Linked DNA regions of Homo sapiens: region 2 is linked to region 1. Evidence: promoter capture Hi-C in 16 types of primary human blood cells and fetal thymus (Javierre and others, 2016). All regions are on one chromosome and are shown on one strand. The core of a region is centred on a gene start or on the middle of the fragment in contact, and the rest is flanking DNA. Distances in the headings are between cores, read along the strand shown.

Region 1 (6,165 bases), core at 2,611-5,110:
CAACCAGAACAGTCACACGTTTGTTACCCCTCTAGCTCCTATAGATTGTTGAAGAAATGGCTCAGAAGGTACAAAAAAAAAAGTTGAGAAACCCTGAACTAGGAACACTTTGGCATGCAGGGGTTTTATCTGAGTGTCCCCGTGTGGGTCTGACTCTCAGTCCCCCACCCTCCCAACAGTCCTGCCTCTTTTCTCATCCCATCACCAGGTTCTGGTCTAACCTTCCACTCACCCTGAGGGCCCAGCACTCACCCTGCCTGTTCACAGGGTCCAGCCTTGCGCTCGCAGTCACGCCCATGGAAGCCTGGTAAGCACACACAATGGTACTCACCGCCCCCGTCATACATGCACTGGCCTCCATTCTGGCAGGGGGACTGCGTGGTACAGATATGTTCATCTGGAGAGGGGACAGGAAAGGCTCTGGGATAACCCCTCCCATCTGGTCCCCAGACCAGACTTGTCCACGCCTTCCAGGCCCCAGGTTCTGTAGGTGTGGCTATACTACAAACCCAGCCCAGGCTGGCGTGGTATGCTAGGGAGAGACAACAACACTGAATTTGGAGTCAGGAGGCTCCTGGCCCTGGCTCTCAGTCTGTCTCAAACTGACCTTGGGCTGGGTACTGTGGCTCATGCCTGTAATCCCAGCACTTTGGAAGACCAAGGTGGGCAGATGACTTGAGGTCAGGAGTTCAAGACCAGCCTGGCCAACATGGCAAAACCCCATCTCTACTAAAAATACAAACATTAGGCCGGTACAGTGGCTCATGCCTATAATTCCAGCACTTTGGGAGGCCAAGGCGGGTGGATCACTTGAGGTCAGGAGTTCGAGACCAGCCTGGCCAACATGGTGAAACCCTATCTCTACTAAAAATACAAAAATTAGCTGAAGTGGCGGGTGCCTGTAATTCCAGCTACTGGGGAGGCTGAGGCACGAGAATCACTTGAACCCAGGAGGCGGAGGTTACAGTGAGCCGAGATCGCACCACTGCACTCCAGCCTGGGTGACAGAGTGAGACTCCATCTCAAAACAAAACAAACAAAAAAACCTGACTTTGAGCAGGTTATAGCTCTTCTGTGGGCCTTAGTTTCCTCATCTGTAAAATGAGTACAATTTTTAGCAGCTGTGTTTCCTGCCCCATGGGGTTATGTTGAGGATCAATTCAGACAACATATAAAAAGTCTAAGATTTAAAAAAATGATAAAATACCATGTATTTGAGGGTTTGACAAGGACAAAATAGGCACTCAATAAATACTGATGGCTGTTCCCCTAAGAACATGGGGTTCCCAACCAAAAGCTACCCTTCCTCCCCCCTACCTTTGTCACAGAACTTGCCTGCCCAGCCACTGTGGCAGATGCACTGCCATGGCTGGTGGCAGGTACCGTGCTGGCAGCCAGGCATCCTCACACAGCGCTCACAGTGCAGCCCCTCCCAGCCCGGGTCACACCTGACGGGGAGAAGCACAGGGTCAGGGCTCTGGGTCATGGATGTGAAGAAATGGAGGAGACAGAACCAGAGCTTCTAGAAACCAAGAGGACATATGACAGCCCCTAAGGGAAAGCAGACCTGTCCCAGGTAGGTGTAGGACTGTGCAGGGTCATAGGACACATATACGGAATCAGACCATCAGACACCAGCACTCAAACCCTGGTTCTGTACTTTAACCTGAGCCTCAGTTTTCTCACCTGTAAATTGGGGATACACCTTGCAGGGTTGAGTAGAGGAAGAAATAAGATGTCTGTAAATGCCTCCAGTACCCCTCCTGGCATGTCTGAGGTGCTCACAAACATTTAAAGAAGAATGACCTTGAAAGGCCATCAGGGCCGGGGCGTGGTTGCTCACGCCTGTAATCCCAGCACTTTGGGAGGTCGAGGCAGGTGGATCACTTGAGGTCAGGAGTTCAAGACCAGCCTGGCCAACTGGGTGAAACCCCGTCTCTACAAAAAATACAAAAAATTACCCGGGCATGGTGGTGTGCATCTGTAATCCATTATTGAGGAGGCTGAGGCAGGGGAACTTGAACACAAGAGGCAGAGGCTGCAGTGAGCTGAGATCGCGCCACTGCACTCCAGCCTTGGCAACAAAGCGAGACTCTGTCTCAAAAACAAAAAATAAAAATAAAAACAAAAAAGGTCATCAGGACTATCCTCCCACCATGATTCCAGGGCAAACACTTGACCCATATTTTAAAAGCCCTCCAGGGGTGAAGAGTCTCAAAGACCCCCAGCCAATTGAACTACCTGCCTCATCAACTCATTTCCTTATGTCCACTTTCCTCCTGCTACAGAATTTGCCCAATCTCCCAGTGAGTCAACTACTCAAACTCATCAAGAAAGATCCTCTTTCATTGTAAGTGTTTCTCCCCAGCAACTCTCCCTGCAGCATTTCTTTTCCAGGCTAAACCATTTCTCTTTCCCTTTTTCCTTTATCTTTCCATTTCCTCATGGCACCCAATCCCCAAGCTCTCTCAAGCTTTAGGTCTCTCTCCCTGTCAGGAGTTCAGACAATCCCTGGATCAGACTTGGGAGATTAAAGAAGTGGGGAGATAAAAACTAGAAGAAGCAAGAGAGGTGAGGTAAAGGGGAAAGGGGGACTGGCCAGTCAGCCATAGGAGTGATGAGGCATGAAGAGTAGAGTCTGAAGCCCCTAGACACTGTTGTGCACGTGAAGGGCTTAGAAATGGGTACCAAAGGGTTTGGGGGCACGTGCTCAGGACAGGTACCTGCAGGAGCCGTCAGGTGCACAGCAGCCGTGGGCCAGGTCACAGTGGGAGCTGCAGTCATCGGCTGCAAGAGATTGATGTGGGAGGGGTGAGTCTGAGTCAGGGCACAGCTCGCTGGGATGCGGGACTCAGGAGAGGATTGGGGTTCCAGTAACTGAGCGGACTCAACCCTAGGGCAGGACATAACACAGAAACTCATCCCATTCCAAAAAGGCAACCTCGGTCTTGCTTGCCCCGCGGGTCGGAGCGACTGCAGTGCCGCCTCCGGCCGGCAGAGGTCAACGTGCAAGCGAGGACGGCTGGACAGGGCCGCGACTGGAGCCCAGCGGGCGCGCTCACCTCGGACAGGCTGACCGGGAGCCCCCAGAATGCACAACAGGCACACGAGATGCAGGCAGCGGCAGCCGCTGGGCATGGTCAGCGCCGGCCCCAGGAGGGACGGACGGATGGACGGCCGGACGCGTGGACACCTGTGGGACGGCACCGGTTGGGAGGCGGCCGGACGCGGAGATAGCGGCACGGATACGGGTTCCAAGTGACAGGAGCCGACGAGGGAGAGGGGCGCCGGGACAGAAGAAGGGGATGGGGGTAGCGGGAGGATGGGGGCAGGGAAGGGTTGAGCAGGCGAAGAGAGCGAGGAGAGCGAAGACAGGAACCCGGGAGCGGGGTCTGCAAGGAGGGGAAAGATGGGCATCGCGGAGCGAGGCCAGGCGCGGGAATGGCTGGGGTTGGGATCGTAGTCAGGACGGAGGGGTCCGCGGGATGGGGACAGCGCCGAGAGGCGGCCTCGAGCACGGAGGGGACGCGGGGGCCGGAGGGAAGGACGGTTCCCGGCAGCGAGCAGTCTCCGCCCCACAGCTCCGACAGCCCCCCCCCCCGCCACCACCACTCTCTCCCACGTCCCCTTTCTATCTCCGCCGCGCTGGGTTCGGCGGCGGCGCGGGGCCTGGAATCCCCACCGCGCCCTGTCCCCGCAGTCCTCACCTCCGGCGGGGAGGTGGCGCGCCCCGGGGCGCAGAGAGAGGCCGGATCCGACGGGCGCCGCCGAGGGGCCGTGAGGGAGCGCGGGGCCGCCCCTAGCTGGCCGCGGGGCCGGGCGCCGAAGCGGCTGCCATGCGAGCCGAGCGCTCGGGAATCTGGGGCTCCAGGCGACCCCGAGCGGCGGCAGCGGCTGCTCCTCGCGCGCGCTCAGGCCCCCTGCCAGGGGCGGAGCCCGCCCCCACCCCCATCCCCCCCCCCGCGACGCACGGCGCACACCTAGCACCCGGCGCGCCCCGGGGCCCCGGCCCTCCGCGGCTACCCAACGCCCCGAACCCAGCTTCCTTCCAAGAGAGGAGGAAATCTTAGGAGTCTCAATGGGAGCAAACTATTAAGCCAAAGGAGCGCAACCCCGTTATTCTCTCATCTCCCATGCCCACTTTCCCGACCAGCGCTCCGCGGCCCACGCCCCAGCCCTGCCTTCGCTTGTCCGCCGCTCATCACGCTTCTCATATAGATCTATGCACACGCAGGCAATCGCTCCCCGCCCTCCGCCTGTCACCAGCCCACGCCTCCCCGCTTGTAAAGCCTTCATCACCTGCTTCATCTGTGTGCTCCTCTGCTCCTCCTCGCCCTCCGCTTCTTCCTGTCCACGTTGCCGTCTCCAGCCTTCCAAGATCAACCTATCCCTATATAAATATCAACCCGATCCACCCAACCACACCCCGGCCCTACCCCCACCACCCTTCCCTCCCTCAAGTCTCAGCCCTTCCACCCCATTCCTTTTTGTGACTGCCTCTGAGAATCCTTTCTGGACTGGGAATGCCCCTGACTCTGTAAATGTGCACACAAAACCCCCTCCACCGCCAAGTCTTCTCCTGTACCCCATCACGTTCGTCCTTGGCCTCAGGCTAAACCTCAACTGCCCAAACCTGGAGCTCAGATTCAGAGAGTAACGGAGGGGGAGTGGGGGAAAGCTGCCCTCCAGGCCTCTTTGCCCCCTTCTGGCTAATGGCTCAGAGACACATTTCAAGACAAGGACCCAGCCAAGCTCGGTGGGCTCACGCCTATAATTCCAGCACTTTGGGAGGCTGAGGCGGGCGGATCACCTGAGGTCAGGAGTTCGAGACCAGCCTGGCCAACATGGTGAAACCCGTCTCTATTAAAAATACAGAAATTAGCCAGGCGTGGTGGTGCGCGCCTGTAATCCCAGCTACTCGGAAGGCTGAGGCAGGAAAATCGCTTGAAAACCCGGGAGGCAGACGTTGCAGTTAGCCAAGATCGCGCCACTGCACTCCAGCTTGGGGGACAGAGCAAAACTCCGACCCCCGCCCCCCCCCAAAAAAAGACAAGGACCCAGAACATAATTTCTAGTTTGTGCAGGACAACAGGGCAGAGGTCAGGAACGCTAGCGCCCATCTCTAGTCCTTCAGATTGAGATTTCACCATCTTTAAATTCAAAACATCGGAAGGAGCAGTCGCTAGTCGGGGCAGAGCAGCTTCCCACCTTCACACAGCCACCTCCACAGGCACAGAGCCCCAGGGCTCATTTTTCCTGCAGTCTCCATTGGATATAACACTTACACCCACTCAGCTCCCTAGCTGGCCTCCTCTCAGCTGTGATCGCCTCTTCCCTGAAGAGCTCTCTGAATTTGAGTAATGACATGGCTGTACCATTCATTTTGTTTAAACACATTTTTTTTTTTGGTGAAAAATTGCAAACAACCTATAATTCAAAAATTACTGTAGGCAAATAAATTATGGCACATCAACACTATGTGACTGTTAAAAATACTTTTTTTTTTTTTTGACGTCTAAAGATGTCCAAAAAAGCTAAGAATATGTAAAGTGCGGTGGGGGGAAGCCGGAAACAAAGAAGAACGTACTTTGACATTGGCAGTGCTTTTCTCTGGATGATCGAATTATAGAGGTTTTTTTTTTTTTCTTATTAATACTTTTCAGCATTAACACTTTTTTTTTTTTTTTTTTTTTTTTTTTTGAGACGGAGTCTCGCTTTGTGGCCCAAGCTGGAGTGCAGTGGCGCTATCTCGGCTCTCTGCAAGCTCCGCCTCCCAGGTTCACGCCATTCTCCTGCCTCAACGTCCCAAGTAGCTGGGACTACAGGCGCCCACCACCCCGCCCGGCTAATTTTTTTTTGTATTTTTAGTAAAGACGGGGTTTCACCATGGTAGCCAGGATGGTCTTGATTTCCTGACCTCGTGATCCGCCCGCCTCGACCTCCCAAAGTGCTGGGATTACAGGCGTGAGCCACCGCGCCCGCCCCTTTTTTTTTTTTTTTAAACAATGAACATCTATAACTTGTTTTTTGTTGTTGTTTGTTTGTTTTTCCTTGAGATTATCACTCTGTCGCCCAGGCTGGAGTGCAGTAGTGCAACCTCAGCTCAGTACAACCTCGTCTCAGCCTCCAGTATAGCTGGAATTGCAGGCACAGCGCCACCACGCC
Region 2 (5,772 bases), core at 562-3,061, 270 kb before region 1:
CACGATGCTGGTAAGAGACAGCCAGGGAAGAAGGAAAGGAATGGAGAAAATGGGGCCACAGGGAATAAGAAAGAGGAGAGATTTCCTAGCTCTGTAAGAACACCTAGTATTTGGTGAATATCAATTTGATGCAAAGGAAAAAATATAGATTAATAGGCTATTTCAGGTATATAAAGAGGCTAAAATGATAGCCTCTGGCTTATCTGTTCATTCTCAGTGCATTGACCAGAGAAGAGAATAGGACTTATCTGTATTTTTGAAACTGGATTGAGATTTATTAGTTGGTTTTGAAATCAATTTGGTGGGTTACAACCAACATTTTTTTAAAAACTTAAGTCATTAGTGTGTAGCACTTAGTAGGGGTAAATTTTGTAGCATAAAATATATGTTTCAGTTATATGTATGTATGTTTGTAACAGGTTACCATGTAAAATGTATTTCTTTCTGTGAGCCTTAGTAACAAAGTTTGAAAGCGTCTGGGGTAGGAGATAGAATCTAGGAAAGGCAGGGAGAAAGTACTGGGGATTGAGGAGAAGATATGGATTGGGTATGGATTACAGGGAGTCGGGCTCACGTCCTTCTATCACTGAGCCAGCAAGATGGCATCGAGCAGCACATGGATTTTGACAGTCGCTATACATTGCTGGAGCTGTTTGCAGAAACCACATCCTCTGAAGAACACTGCATGGCCTTTGAGGGCATTCATCTGCCTCAGGTACACTGCCAGCTGTAGGGAAATGCTGTGTACAAGGGCTAAGACATTATTTATGAAAACGTGGTTCAGGACTGAATGTTAGCACCAGAGCCACCTGGGAACTTGTTAACATGAAGGTTCATGTCCTCCCTCCCAGCCCCTCTCCATTCAGAATTTCTGAGATGAGAACCCAGGAATCTGTGTTTTAAGACACTCCCTATGCCTTTCTTACACAAATCAAAGTTTCAGAACTACAGGCCTGGGGAGAAGGCCTTTATATTTTTCTGTAGAGGAGGATACTTCAGGGAAGGGGAGAGGCTAAAGCCAGGAAGAGATGAACCTGTCCCAAGGATTGTGTCTTACAGATCCCAGGAAAGCTGCTTTTCTCCTTGGTGAAGCGCTACCTTTGTGTCACGTCCCTCCTGGATCAGCTGAATAGCAGTCCAGAGCTGGGAGCTGGAGACCAAAGCTCCCCATGTGCCACAAGAGAGAAAAGCCGGGGACAGCGGGAACTGGAGTTCAGCATGGCTGTGGGCAACCTCATCTCTGAGCTTGTGCGGAGCATGGGCTGGGCCCGGAACCTCAGCGAACAGGGCATGTCACCTCCCCGGCCAACCCGGTCCATCTTTCAGCCCTACATTTCAGGCCCCAGCCTTTTACTCCCCACCATTGTCACCACCCCCAGAAGACAAGGGTGGGTCTTCCGCCAGCGCTCTGAATTCTCCAGCCGTAGTGGCTATGGAGAATATGTGCAGCAGACACTGCAGCCAGGGATGCGAGTGCGGATGCTGGATGATTATGAGGAGATCAGTGCTGGGGACGAGGGCGAGTTCCGGCAGAGCAACAACGGCATTCCCCCTGTGCAGGTGGGCAGCACATGGTGGTGAGACACTGTTGGGAGTTTATTTGGGGTGGGGTGTAGCTGGGACTTCATAAGGAGGACTCCTGCAGGCCACCCAAGAAGAACCCCCCTGGGGAATTGGAATGATACAAGGGGGTTGGCATTTGTGCGGGGTGCATTTGGAGGGCTGAGAAAATCTGGCAGGGGTGTGGGTGGGCTGTAAGTTCATGGGAGACTCACCCAGGAAGCAGAACTGATAAATGGAGATACCTCCCCACCAACACCAGTGGAAGAGGCTAGGAAGGAATGTCGAGGCAGAGAATCATGGTTAAGAAAAGAGGCAGGGCCCACTCCTGATAAGGGAAGGAAGCCTTTTGCCATATGGGGGTTTTTCCAGGCTTAGCCAGGTGTGTATCTGAGGGTGCGCCCCAGATCTATGCTTGGGCATGTCCTTTCAAGCCTTCACAGGCCAAGGCTCAGAGGGTTGAGCCTTCTCTATTCTGCTCTCTTTCTTCCTCCCTCATACCAGGTTTTCTGGCAGTCGACAGGCCGCACTTACTGGGTGCACTGGCACATGCTGGAGATCCTGGGCCCTGAGGAAGCCACTGAGGATAAGGCTTCAGCAGCTGTGGAGAAGGGGGCAGGGGCTACTGTGTTGGGCACAGGTGAGCCTAAGAGGGGACATGGATAGCATGTCTCTGAACAGAGGATTAGTGACTGGGATGAAGCCACTTCTGACCAGGAGCAGCCCTAGGGGTCCAGAAATAGACCCCATTCCTGAGGGGTGCTGATGCCCGCCATGCCTGTGTCCTCAGCATTTCCCTCCTGGGACTGGAATCCTATGGATGGGCTGTACCCTTTGCCGTACCTCCAGCCCGAACCTCAGAAGAATGAGAGAGTGGGATATCTGACCCAGGCTGAATGGTGGGAGCTGCTTTTCTTTATCAAAAAGTTGGACTTGTGTGAGCAGCAGCCAATTTTCCAGAATCTTTGGAAGAACCTGGATGAGGTATTATAGGTCTGAGATACCTGGGGGTTTTCTAGTAGGGTTAGAGGTGGGATTCTCTAGAGGGAGTTTCAGATAGGGGTTACCGCTTAGGGGGAGGCTGGAGCTAGAGATTAGAGTTAGGAGGAGTCCTGCTGGGGGTTGGAGGCAAGTGCTGTGAGGGTCTAGTATGTAGAAGGTGTGGGGGCATGGTAGGGAGTGATCACCCTTCCCATTACTGACCCCAAGACCTTTGTGTCTGCTTGTCTCTTAAACGTATACCCCTTCTGTTGACAGACCCTGGGTGAAAAGGCCCTAGGTGAGATCTCTGTGTCCGTGGAAATGGCCGAGAGTCTGCTGCAGGTTCTCAGTAGTCGATTTGAGGGCAGCACTCTCAATGACCTGCTCAACTCCCAGATCTACACCAAGTATGGGCTGCTGTCTAATGAACCAAGCAGCTCGTCTACTTCACGAAATCACTCCTGTACCCCAGATCCAGAAGAGGAGTCCAAGTCGGAGGCCAGCTTCTCAGAGGAAGAGACTGAGTCCCTCAAAGCAAAGGCCGAGGCCCCTAAGACAGAGGCCGAGCCCACCAAGACAAGGACCGAGACCCCCATGGCACAGAGTGATTCTCAGCTGTTTAACCAGCTTCTGGTGACTGAGGGGATGACCCTGCCCACTGAGATGAAGGAGGCAGCCAGTGGTGAGTCAGGTTCTGGGAGGAAGCAATTGGAACAAGTCCTGGGTAGTCTCAGTAGAAGAAATGGATAGTCAGGATCGAAGGAAAGCCATGGAGGAAGGTGATTTTTGCAGGGGAAAATGCCTTGGAACCATGCGTCCATCTTCTTCCTTTTGACCTTGATTGTATTTAATTAACCAGCGCTCCCTTCCTTCAGTATCTCTGGAAAAGGAGGATCCGTTTTCTGGGGTGTCTTCATCTCCTTTGTTTGATCATTAGATCCCTGACACAGAATTGGAAAACTCTGCAAGCTGCAGTAGCCGATAATGTGTTTAAATATTGGTAGGATAACTGGGCTTGACTTTAAAGACTTCTAACTTCAAGGTGCCACAGTTCTTTTAGCCATTGCCTTTTCCCACCAATTTCAGAAATGGCCAGAGCCTTGCGGGGTCCCGGTCCTCGCAGCTCCCTGGATCAGCATGTGGCAGCGGTCGTGGCCACTGTGCAGATATCCAGCTTGGACACAAACCTGCAGCTTTCAGGGCTCTCTGCCCTCTCTCAGGCTGTGGAGGAGGTCACTGAGCGGGACCACCCTCTGGTCCGTCCTGACAGATCGCTGAGGTTAGCATACTGGGGAGGGAAGAGGTTTTGGTTGAAGCTGTAGGCAAAGGATGGTGGTAGCGGGGAAGGAGCTTTGAGATCACGAATTAGAAAAGCTTGGGGTGAGGGAAGGCTCAGCCTGAGGAGCAGCCGAGCAGGAGGGTTGGATGTTTTAATGGCTCGTATTCTTGGAGCACTTCTGTTATGCCAGGCACTGTGCTAGTATTTTACATGCATTCTCTCATTAAATCCACCTAACACCTGAGGAAGCGTTGGTAATATTATTATCCTACTATATGGGTGAGGAAACTGAAGCTTAGAGAATTTAAGTAACTTGCTTAGAGTTTTACAGATAGCAGAGCCAGGATTCAAACCTAGGTCTTTTTGGCTCTAGAACTGGAGTTTTTTCTCTTTCTTTTTCTTTTTTTTCTGTCCCTACGTACTTTTTTTTTTTCACATTAGACCTTAAAACCTACTTTATTTTAAATTTTTTTCTACCTTTATTTATTTATTTTTGAGACAGTCTTGCTATGTCGTCATGCTGGAGTGCAGTGGCGCGATCTCGGCTCACTGCAACCTCTGCCTCCCGGGTTCAAGGGATTCTCCCGCCTCAGCCTCCCAAGTAGCTGGGATTACAGGCACCACCACACCCAGCTAATTTTTGTACTTTTAGTAGAGACAGGGTTTCATCATGTTTGCCAGGATGGTCTCGATCTTCTGACCTCGTGATCTGCCTGCCTCGGCCTCCCAAAGTGCTGGGATTGCAGGCGTGAGCCACCGCGTCCAGCCCTCTACTTTTAAATTATACAAATAACACACAACTTATTCTCATTCTATTTATTTATTTTTATTTATTTACTTGTTTTTGAGACAGAGTCTCACTCTGTCACCCAGGCTAGAGTGCAATAGTGTGATCTTGGCTCACTGCAACCTCCGCCTCCTGGGTTCAAGCAGTTCTTATGTCTCAGCCTCCCAAGTAGCTGGGATTACAGGTGCCCACCACCAGGCCCAGCTAATTTTTGTATTTTAGTAGAGACGGGGTTTCACCCTGTTGGCCAGGCTGGTCTCGAACTCCTAACCTCAGATGATCCAGTCTCCCAAAGTGCTGGGATTACAGGTGTGAGCCACCATGCCCAGCCGCATTCTCATTTTAAAAGATCTGAAGAATGTAAAAGGACATAGGAGGGCCAAAGTCCTTTCTCACCACTGTTATCAGTCTACTATATCCTACAGATTTGCATTTGTAATTGTGTGTTTGGAAATAGAGCATTTTCTGAGTCTTTGTTTTAGTCTATGTAATCACATTCTACATGTTTCTACAACTTTTTTTTTTTTGCCCCCGCTCAGTGTCTTAGAGGGCTTTCCATATCAGTCTGGGTGGAGCTGCCTCATTATTTTTACTGCTGCATGGGACCCTGCAGTGTGGTTATCTCCAGTTTCAAGTGCAGTGTTCTAACGCGTCTGTTTTTCCTTACGTCTGCCAACACTGAATATTGTCGTCTTTTTTAATCTATCTAATTGGCAGCATTTTAAATGATTGGTATCTCTTTGTTTTAATTTCCTAGTTCTGGTAAAGTTAGGCACATTTGCATACATTTGTTCTGTTTTTTTTTTTCTATAAATATTCTGTTATTATCCTTTGCCCACTTTTTAATTGGATCTTTGCCTTTTTTAATGTATTTATAGGCATTTTGGTTATTCCTTTGTTATTTATGTTCCAGATATTTTGCTTGTCTTTTTAAAAATCATCTTAGCTCTATTTTTTGGTTATAGAATAATACATATGGTAAAAAAGTTAGAAAATTATTAAAATAAAAATTATCTGATCATATTCAAGTGAGATTGACAGAAAAAAAATCTGAAAGCCATTAAGACAGAGACAATCACTATTAACATGTTGGTAAACATCCTTACTTATTTCTCTAGTCATATGTATTACCCATGTATATTATCTGGTATATAATAAATCATGG

The links. Contacts are between HindIII fragments. The CHiCAGO score rates a contact against its expected background, and 5 or more counts as called.
Region 2: a fragment that was not itself captured here is called in contact with the fragment with the promoter of DLK2 in region 1 in 1 of 17 cell types (total B cells); the score reaches 5.3 in total B cells.

Annotation. Positions count from the first base shown.
Region 1 is chr6:43,451,688-43,457,852 of GRCh38, forward strand. It overlaps DLK2 (delta like non-canonical Notch ligand 2), which reads right to left and starts at 3,861. Exons shown (of 6, transcript NM_023932.4): 1 at 3,708-3,861; 2 at 3,063-3,193; 3 at 2,724-2,787; 4 at 1,318-1,448; 5 at 253-397. The coding sequence starts at 3,138. It also overlaps a transcript of ABCC10 not described here. RefSeq lists enhancers at 2,840-2,889, 4,518-5,359 and silencers at 3,420-3,499, 3,530-3,579, 3,680-3,919. The HindIII fragment of the contact is 6,033 bases long and covers 2,472-6,165 here.
Region 2 is chr6:43,184,896-43,190,667 of GRCh38, forward strand. It overlaps CUL9 (cullin 9), which reads left to right. Exons shown (of 41, transcript NM_015089.4): 2 at 1-10; 3 at 561-715; 4 at 1,060-1,560; 5 at 2,065-2,200; 6 at 2,351-2,544; 7 at 2,818-3,223; 8 at 3,628-3,820. Among named protein-coding and RNA genes, the nearest start is that of CUL9, 5.6 kb to the left of the region's middle. RefSeq lists an enhancer at 1,485-2,684. The HindIII fragment of the contact is 4,204 bases long and covers 1-3,913 here.